Linked DNA regions of Homo sapiens: regions 2 and 3 are each linked to region 1. Evidence: promoter capture Hi-C in 16 types of primary human blood cells and fetal thymus (Javierre and others, 2016). All regions are on one chromosome and are shown on one strand. The core of a region is centred on a gene start or on the middle of the fragment in contact, and the rest is flanking DNA. Distances in the headings are between cores, read along the strand shown. Region 1 holds the start of HDHD5 (haloacid dehalogenase like hydrolase domain containing 5). Region 2 overlaps CECR2 (CECR2 histone acetyl-lysine reader). Region 3 has its middle 22 kb from the start of CECR2.

Evidence for each region. The method cuts DNA at HindIII sites, captures the fragments that hold promoters and counts their contacts. A CHiCAGO score of 5 or more calls a contact.
Region 2: a contact is called between a fragment that was not itself captured here and the fragment with the promoter of HDHD5 in region 1, in 1 of 17 cell types (naive B cells). The highest score is 6.2, in naive B cells.
Region 3: a contact is called between a fragment that was not itself captured here and the fragment with the promoter of HDHD5 in region 1, in 1 of 17 cell types (naive B cells). The highest score is 5.4, in naive B cells.

Annotation. Positions count from the first base shown.
Region 1 is chr22:17,157,853-17,161,040 of GRCh38, reverse strand. It overlaps HDHD5 (haloacid dehalogenase like hydrolase domain containing 5), which reads left to right and starts at 1,764. Exons shown (of 8, transcript NM_033070.3): 1 at 1,764-1,915. The coding sequence starts at 1,790. It overlaps HDHD5-AS1 (HDHD5 antisense RNA 1), which reads right to left and starts at 1,652. Exons shown (of 2, transcript NR_024483.1): 1 at 1,204-1,652. RefSeq lists a silencer at 1,753-2,082. The HindIII fragment of the contact is 6,885 bases long and covers 1-2,518 here.
Region 2 is chr22:17,403,577-17,406,764 of GRCh38, reverse strand. All of the region lies in intron 1 of CECR2 (CECR2 histone acetyl-lysine reader), which reads right to left. Among named protein-coding and RNA genes, the nearest start is that of CECR2, 36 kb to the right of the region's middle. The HindIII fragment of the contact is 3,899 bases long and covers 1-3,188 here.
Region 3 is chr22:17,346,235-17,349,422 of GRCh38, reverse strand. No RefSeq gene overlaps it. Among named protein-coding and RNA genes, the nearest start is that of CECR2, 22 kb to the left of the region's middle. RefSeq lists an enhancer at 2,070-2,364. The HindIII fragment of the contact is 2,575 bases long and covers 264-2,838 here.

The DNA.
Region 1 (3,188 bases), core at 515-3,014:
TCAGATGATCCGCCTGACTTGGCCTCCCAAAGTGCTGGGATTACAGGTGTGAGCCACCGCGCCTGGCTATGCTTTTGAGGAGCCGATTGTCAAAAAAAACTGTGGGCATGTTTAAAAGCCATCATACCAAGAAATTTCTAATGACTAAATCAGTTTCTAGGTAGTTTAATAGAAGGAAGGGATTAGGAACATTGCAATCCTAGAGAGCTATGTCCCCTGGCAGGGTTTAAGTGTCGGGCTATTGTGAGTTTGACTGACTTGAATTAGTCTTCCAAATTCTGATTAGCTGTAGTTGAACTGAATTAAGATCTTGCCCTTCAAAGCTGAGGACCAAAGGACACCGCTAACTACTTCTTCATTTTATTATTATTATTATTATTTTTTTTTTTTTCAAGACGGAGTCTCACTCCGTCACCCAGGCTGGAGTGCATTGGCGCAATCTCGGCTCACTGCAACTTCTGCTGCCTGGGTTCAAGCGATTCTCCTGCCTCAGCCTCCCGAGTAGCTGGGACTTGAGGCGCCTGCCACCGCGCCTGGCTAATTTTTGCAGTTTTCAGCAGAGACGGGGTTTCACCATCTTGGCTAGGTGGTCTTGAACCCCTGACCTCCTGATCCACTCGCCTCAGTCTCCCAAAGTGCTGGGATTACAGGTGTGAGCCACCGCACCCGGCCCTATTTTATTATTTTTAAAATAGAGAAGGGGTCTCCCTATGTTGCCCAGGCTGGTCTGGAACTCCTGGACTCAAGTTTTCCTCCCACCTTGACCTTCCAAAGTTCTGGGATTACAGGGGTGAGCCACCGCACCCTGGCCTGCTAATGTGTGAGCTAGTGCAGTCTCTGTCCATATCCTCGACTCCCTCTCTGCTAGTGCTAAGTACATTGTAGGGTCCCGCGTTTTTAGCATAGCTATACCTATGAATGGGCCAAAGAATCTGAGGGCATCCTACACATTTCAAACGGTGGGAATGGAGACCTCTTTCCTCCAGCAGAATCTCCCCTCATGACCGGGGGACTACCAGATCCAGCTCTGCTAAGGGCCTCCACGGACGGAGTCGGCTACCTCTCCACTTTCAGTGACCGAAATCCATTCTTTGTTCATTCACCCTTGTGTCTACTCCGGGAAACGCGCAGCGGACACAGTCGTGTTCCCTAAGTGTTTGCTGACTTAGTCATCTGGCCCTCTCTGGAGTAGTCATTTTGTACCTTGTACTACATTCGTGCCTCTACCTCTCCGCAGTGCGCGCGGGGGCGGACTCACGTGCGCAGTCTCCCTATGCGCTGGGAGGGCGTCAGCAGGTTTACAGAAACAATGAAAGACTTAACAATTGGCGCGCGACGAGCGTCCCTTGACTGGCAGGGGCCCAGAGGACCTGAACATCACTAAGGGTCTGCCCCAGCGGCCCGGCCCTGAAGTCAAGGTTGAGACCCCCGGCCCAGACAGTCCGCGAAGCTGAGGGAGGCCGGCCTGGGGCCTGCCGCGCAATGTTACCGGGATCCGCAGGCACAGGGCGATAGTACGGACGCCGCCGCCCAGGCCGTGCCCATTGTGCGCCGCGGCCAGCTCACCGCGATCTCGGTCTAGGAGGCGGCGGGACCCCGCACTTCTTCCTTGCAACGGAGCCCCTTTGGCCTGCGGGTCGAGTTCCATAGGCGCCCGACGGGCTCCGCGCGCTTACAGGACTACAACTCCCGTGATGCCGCGCGCGCCGACCGCTGATTGGCTGTGCAGCGGACGGACTCGCGGGGGGGGGGGGCCGCACGCCGTGCACGTGCGCACGGCGACGGCCGGATGGCTGCGTGGGGCTGTGTGGCTGCGCTCGGCGCGGCGCGTGGGCTTTGCTGGCGGGCGGCGCGCGCGGCTGCGGGGCTCCAGGGCCGCCCCGCCCGCAGGTGCTATGCTGTGGGCCCCGCTCAGGTGAGGACGTCCGGGTTCTGGCCGAGCCACTCGCCACTCAGGGCCGGAGGCGGGGCGGGGAGCCGCGGGGAAGGAGGGGCGGCCGGGCTGGTATCCCAGCCTCCTGGGAACTGCCTGGACCGTCGTCGCGCCCGAGTGCATCGCGTTCTTGCTGGAGGGCGGATGCGCCCTGCCTTCCTCTGACTCGCTGGCGGCCTCGGAAACGCTACTCCCGCGGGAGAGCGCTCGTGGGACGGCCTGGGCCAGGCTGCTTGTCAGCCCCTGCGCTTCCCGGCAGTTTCCGCGTCCCTGTTTTCCCTGCGCGTCTTCTGATTTCCACCATGAGGACGTTTGGGTCGTGATTTTCATCTGCATGTGGAGGAAACTGGGCCGCGCGCCGGGAGCCGCGCCTGCGGGTGCTCCGCCCCCAAGTGCCTGTGGGTTTGGTGCGGGCCTTGGGTTCAGTTCAGCTCGCTGTGACCTCGACTGAGCGCTGGAGGCTCCGCGGGCGGGAGCAGGAGGGCTGGAGCCGGCGCCTGCTGTGTGCCCGGCGCGGTAGTGATGTGTGAGCCTCCCCGCAACTTCTGAGAAGGTGTGACCTTGTGTGGTCAGGAAGCCGAAGCTTGACGAGTTTTCAAGTACGTTTTCTCAGGTCCTGCAGCTGGGAGACGGCACAGGACACTAAACCAGGTTGGTCAGATCCACGGCTCTCACGCTCCCTTGGGCCGTTTTGCCTTTTCTGGAAAAAGGAATCACTTTGTCTTCTAAACGCACAAGTAATATTTTACATTAACATACGGATTTCACAGTAATCCTTGCATTTTTTTTTTTTAGACGGCATCTCTGTCACCAGGTTGGAGTGCAGTGGCGCAATCTCTGCTCACTGCAACCTCCGCCTCCCGGGTTCAAGCGATTCTTCTGTCTCAGCCTCCCGAGTAGCTGGGATTACAGGCACCCGCCACCACATCCGGCTAATTTTTGTATTTTTAGTAGAGACAGGGTTTCACCATGTTGGCCAGGCTGGTCTCGAACTTTTGACCTCAGATGATCCTCACATCTTGGCCTCCCAGAGTGGTGAGATTACAGGCATGAGCCAGTGCACCCGGCCAAATTACTTGCATGAAAAAAACACATAGTGCTTACTTTGTGCCAGGCACTATTCTAAGTACTTCACAGTTATTCGTATAATCTTTATAACAACTCCGAGGAAAGTACTATTATTAGTCTTCCCATTTTATAGATGGAGCAGAGGCACAGAGAGGTTAAGCAGCTTACCCAAGGGCACACAGCTGGT
Region 2 (3,188 bases), core at 362-2,861, 250 kb before region 1:
TGTCTTCCAGTTCAAAGCTGTCACTGCAATCAGGAGACAGCTCTTCAGCTAGAAGAAAGAGCTGGCAGGATTTCCAGACTCATGCTAAGAATCTGGGGAAGGGAAATGAATCATTTCATATTTCACCCCTATTGTATTAAAAGATAAAGAAGTCTCTGAATTGACATTTATAAGATACTCTAGCCAAGAACAGCAGAATACACATTCTTTTCTTTTTTTTGGAGGGAGGGGTGGGGGGAGGAACAGAATCCTGTTCTGTCACCCCCCAGGGTGGAGTGCAGTGGTATAATCTCGACTCACTGCAACCTCCGCCTCCTGGGTTCAAGTGATTCTCATGCTTCAGCCTCCTCAGTAGCTGGGATTACAGGCGTGTGCCACCACGCCTGGCTAATTTTTGCATTTTTTTAGTAGAGACGGGGTTTCGTCATGTTGGCCAGGCTGGTCTCGAACTCCTGACTTCAGGTGGTCCTCCCGCCTTGGCCTCCCAAAGTGCTGGGATTACAGGCGTGAGCCACCATGCCCGGTCCTACACATTCTTTTCAAGTGAAAATGAAACATTTACCAAAAGACACCATATTCTGGGCCATAAAACAAGTCTCAATACATTTAAAAGGATGCAAGTCATACAAAATGTCTTGTCTGACTAAAGTGGGTTAAATTAGATATCATTAATAGAAAGCTCTCTGGAAAATTCCCAAATATTTGAAAACTAATATTCTTCACACTTCTAATAACTAATACACTTCTAATATATTCGTATTTCTAAATAACCCATGGCTGCAGGAAGAAATAGAAAGGGAAAAGGGGAAGACCTGAATGCTTTTTCTCTAAGATGAGGAACAAGACCAGGATGTCTACTCTGGCCTCTACATTTTATGGTTGGCTCTAGACAGTGCACTAAGGTAAGAAAAAGAAGTAGTGGCTTCCACATTGCAAAAAGATGCAAAACTATTTTTATTTACAGACAACATGATCATCTATGCAGAAAATCCAATGGAATCTACAAACAGGTTGCTAAAAGGGGGGAGTTTAGGAAGGTTACAGATACAAGAGTAATATAACTCAACGCTATTTCTAATACTAGCAAACAATTGAAAATTTTTTTTTTTTTTTTTTTTTTTTTTTGAGATGGAGTCTCACTCTTTTGCCCAGGCTGGAATGCAGTGGCACGATCTCGGCTCACTGCAACCTCTGCCTCCTAGGTTCAAGCGATTCTCCTGCCTCAGCCTCTGGAGTAGCTGGGATCACAGGCGGCAGCCACCACACCCGTCTAATTTATTTTATTTTATATTTTATTTTATTTTATATTTTTTATTTTATCTTATTTTATCTTATCTTATCTTATTTTATTTGAGACGGAGTTTCGCTCTCGTTGCCCATGCTGGAGTGCCATGGCGCAATCTCGGCTCACTGCAACCTCCACCTCCCAGGTTCAAGCGGTTCTCCTGCCTCAGCCTCCTGAGTAGCTGGGATTACAGGCGTCCACCACCATGCCCAGCTAATTGTTTGTATTTTTTAGTAGAGACAAGGTTTCACTATGTTGGCCAGGCTGGTCTTGAACTCCTGACCTCAGGTGATCCGCCTGCCTCAGCTTCCCAAAGTGCTGGGATTACAGGTGTGAGTCACCATGCCTGGCCTAAAACTTTCAAAAATGTATAATAGCATCAAAAAGAATGAAATACTTTGGGATAAATCTGACAAAAGATGGGAGATACCTAAAGAGTTGAGAATTTGAATATAAAACTTTTCTGTCAGAAATCAAAGAAAACCTAGAGAGAGAGAGGTACCATCATCATGGGTCAGAAGACTCAATAGTGTTAAGAGGCCCATTTTCTACAAATTGACCTAGATATTCAATACAACTCCAATCTAAATGCTAGCAGGCTTTTTTTGTAGAAACTGATAAGCTAATTCTAAAATTCATATGGAAATATAAAAAATATAAAATAGCCAAAGCAACTTTGAAAATGAACAAAGTGAGAGGACTAACATTATTTGATTTCACTACTTATTAAAAGCTGCACTAATTAAGATACTGTGATATTGTCTTGAAAACAGAACAGAGTGAACAATGACATAGAACAGGGTCCAGGGCCAGGCGCGGTGGTTCACGCCTGTAATCCCAGCACTTTGGGAGGCCGAGGCGGGTGGATCACGAGGTCAGGAGATCGAGACCATCCCGGCTAAAACGGTGAAACCCCGTCTCTACTAAAAATACAAAAAATTAGCCGGGCGTAGTGGCGGGCGCCTGTAGTCCCAGCTACTGGGGAGGCTGAGGCAGGAGAATGGCGTGAACCCGAGAGGCGGAGCTTGCAGTGAGCCGAGATCCCGCCACTGCACTCCAGCCTGGGCGACAGAGCGAGACTCCGTCTCAAAAAAAAAAAAAAAAAAAAAAAGAAAGAACAGGGTCCAGAAATGAACCCACATGTATATGGAAAACTGACTTGGGCAACTAATAAAGGATAGTCTTTTTTTTTTTTTTTTTGGCAGGGGGGTCGGGGGGATGGGGACAGAGTCTCGCACTGTCATCCAGGCCGGAGTGCAGTGGCACGATCTCGGCTCACTGCAACCTCCACCTCCTGGGTTCAAGAGATTCTTCTGCCTCGGCCTCCCAAGTAGCTGGGAGTACAGACGTGCAACATGACGCCCGGCTAATTTTTGTTATTTTTAGCAGAGACGGGGTTTCACCACATTGGCTGGACTAGTCTCAAACTCCTGACCTCGTGATCCTCCTGACTCCATCTCCCAAAGTGCTAGGATTGCAGGTGTGAGCCACTGTGCCCGGCCAGGGTGGTCTTATCTACAAATGCTACTAAACACATGCCCCCTCCCCACTCAAAAAAAACCCCACCAACTTCGATCAGTACTTTATATCATATGCAAATTATCAATTCAAAATGAAGCACAGACTTAAATGGTAAATCTAAAACAATAAAACTTCTAGAAGAAAATGTAAGAAACAAACCTTTGTGACCTTAGATTAGGAAAAAGCAAAACCAGAATATATAACAGCTCAATAGACAAAGAGTCCAATTTTAAAATGAGCAGAATACCTTAACTAGAAGATCACCAAAGATATAAATAGCTAACACAGAAAAAGGTGAACATTATTAATGATAAGGGAGATGCAGATCAAAACCACATTAAAATAGCCCTTCGCCCCCCACTACTGAATAGTGATAAGCAAA
Region 3 (3,188 bases), core at 302-2,801, 190 kb before region 1:
GCACGGACAAAGAACATCCACACTAAGCTAGGACACCAGAGGACGCTTCCTGGACACGGAGATGCTTCAGTGCAGCTTGAAGGACATGTGTCCTTTGGGTGGACAAGGGGGAAGCTAAGAGGCGCAGTGGCATAAAATAGTCGCGTCACTCGGAGTGTCTGGGGCAAAGCATGTTTGTTGGTTGTGGAAGAAGAATGAGGCTACAGATGTAAACAGGATTCAGGTGAGGAAAGTCCTTTTGTGCTCAGCTCACAGTTAAAGCTTCATGCTGACACATTTGGAGAAGCCACTGAAAGAGTTTAAGCAAGAAAATGATAGAAACTGTTTACGTTTAGAACATTGGCACAATGATGGAGAATGGCTTGAAGAAGCAAAGGGAACAAATAGGTTGTAGTCAGAAAGACGAGTTAGAAAATAGACTGAAGTCACAAAGGCTGAAGTCAGTAATTCAGGCAGGAAGCAGTGAGGTCCTAACCGAAGGCAACAGCAGAGGGCATGAAGAAAAGGAGGAGTCAGGACAATATTGTGCAGCTAGAACCTACAGGCTTTGGTGACTGATGTGTGTTCTGCTTGAGAAATACGTGTCCTAGATTACTTGTGTTGGGAATAACACTTAAAATCTTAAGGAGATTGAACACTCAAACAAAGGATTCTTAGCAAAGCAATTTTACTTTTGCGCAGAGGGGTGCTTTTCCTTGGCCGGTCACCATGAGAGCACACCTGAACAAAGGCGCACGAGAGCCTTTATTCCTGATGCCAAGTCCTGCCCCTGTACCCTTTCCCCATTGGCCAGGGTCGGGTCGCACAAACTGAACTAATCCCGGTTGGCTAGACATTTGAACTCTTTTTAGATAAGGTGGACACGTAAGGGAGAGAGGGGAAAAGGGGAAAGGGTATCTGTAATGAGTTAGCGAGCTAGTCTTTTTTATTTTTTTATTTTTTTATTTTTTGAGACGGAGTCTCGCTCTGTCGCCCAGGCTGGAGAGCAGCGGCGCGATCTCGGCTCACTGCAAGCTCCGCCTCCCGGGTTCACGCCATTCTCCTGCCTCAGCCTCCCGAGTAGCCGGGACTACAGGCGCCCGCCACCACGCCCGGCTAATTTTTTTGTATTTTTAGTATAGACGGGGTTTCACCGTTTTAGCCAGGATAGTCTCGATCTCCTGACCTCGTGATCCGCCCGCCTCGGCCTCCCAAAGTGCTGGGATTACAGTCGTGAGCCACCGCGCCCGGTCATCTTTTTTTTTAAATAAGGAAAGAATGTGAGCTGGTACTGATAAGCCTGGTACTGTGGCGTGTCTGGGCATGTAACAAAGGCAGAAAGGAAAAAAAGAGAGAAAGGAAAAAGGGGTTTAAGGGTATATGAATTAAAGAATAAAGGATTGATAGGGCTATTTGAAGAGAAACCTCATCATATCCCACACTCGCGTGACTGGGCGAGGGATGACCTCACTGCCTGAAATCCAGACTATGGCTCTTCAGAGAAAGTTGAAGCAAGCAGGTATACACGTTGTAACCCTGAGGCACGATGAGCTGATGACCAGCCGGATGCACAGGACCAGCAGGGAGGTCCCAGTGGACGTGGTGCGGGAGCCAGCAGGGTGTAGCAAGCCCTTCGGGAGGCTCCCCAGGGAGGACATGGGAAGGGAGGGGGGCCAAGAACTAAGGACAGAGCTGTGGTCCTTCCCTCGTTCCTTCCTCGCATAGCGTGGATTCAAGACTTTTGTTGTTGTTGTTGTTGTTGTTGAGACAGAGTCTCGCTCTGTCCCCCAGGCTGGAGTGCAGTGGCGCAATCTCGGCTCACTGCAACCTCCGCCTCCCAGGTTCAAGTGATTCTCCTGCCTCAGCCTCCCAAGTAGCTGGGACTACAGGAGCGTTCCACCACGCACGACTAATTTCTGTATTTTTAGTAGAGACAGGGTTTCACTATGTTGGCCAGGCTGGTCTCAAACTCCTGACCTCAGGTGATCCGCCTGCCTCAGCCTTCCAAAGTGCTGGGATTACACGCATGAGCCACGGAGCCTGGCCCAAGACTTCTTTTTTTTTTTTTTTTTTTTTTTTGAGATGGAGTCTTGTTCTGCCACCAGGCTGGAGTGCAGTGGCGCGATTCCAAGACTTCTTAAAGTCCTGTTGAGCCTTCTCAAGGTTCTTCTTGGGATTGTACCTAACAAAACAAAGCAAAAGTTATTTCACCAACGCCCAGTATGACAGTGTTGCTTCCTTCCCTTGAGCTGATAAGCATGTTTATCTTAAGACAACCAAGCTAGCATTAGGGTTTTGGCAGCTCATCACACCATTGGTTCATATTGAGTCCAGAGACAACAGAAACCCCCCAATTTAAAAATAAACAGTCAGGCTGGCTGGGCATGGTAGCTCACACCTGTAATCAAACCAGCACTTTGGGAGGCAGAGGCGAATGGATCACTTGAGGTCAGGAGGTCAAGACCAGCCTGGCCAACATGGTGAAACTCTACTAAGAATACAAAAATTAGCCAGGCATGGTGGTGGGCACCTGTAATCCCAGCTACTGAGGACGCTGAAGCTGGAGAATTGCTTGAACTGGGGAGGCGGAGGTTGCAGTGAGCTGAGATCGTGCCATTGCACGTCAGCCTTGGCAATAGATCAAGACTCTGACTCAGATAAATAAATAAATAAATAAATAAATGGTCAGGCCAAGATCTCCTTCAACTACTTTTCTGTAATTGGTTTTTGGGATTTGATTACACAATTTTATATTTGCCTACTAGAAGATGACCCTTTCAGCCTGCATTAAACAGGCCTTCACTGCTGTCAGAATAAAGGTGCCACATGCCAGTATCATGTAGAGAATGTAAAGAAGCTTCAGAAAAGCACTGGAAAATAGCACCTACAGGAAGAGGCTGATGAGATGATGCTGCATTGTTGTCGCTGGAGAAAAGTCATGTTAAATGTGCTAATTGGCTCTGCCAAAAACAATTATGATTTTTCAGTCTCATATGAGAGACTTTAGAAATACAGAAATGTATAAACAAGAAAAATTTTGAAATCACCCATAAAAATGCTCATGTCATTACATTAAGGGGAAAAGAATACAAAATTATATATATAATTTTATTTTTATTAAAAAATATTTGTGTGGCCGGGCACGGTGGCTCAAGCCTGTAATCCCAGCACTTTGGGAGGCTGAGGTGGGCAGATTGCAGTCAGGAGTT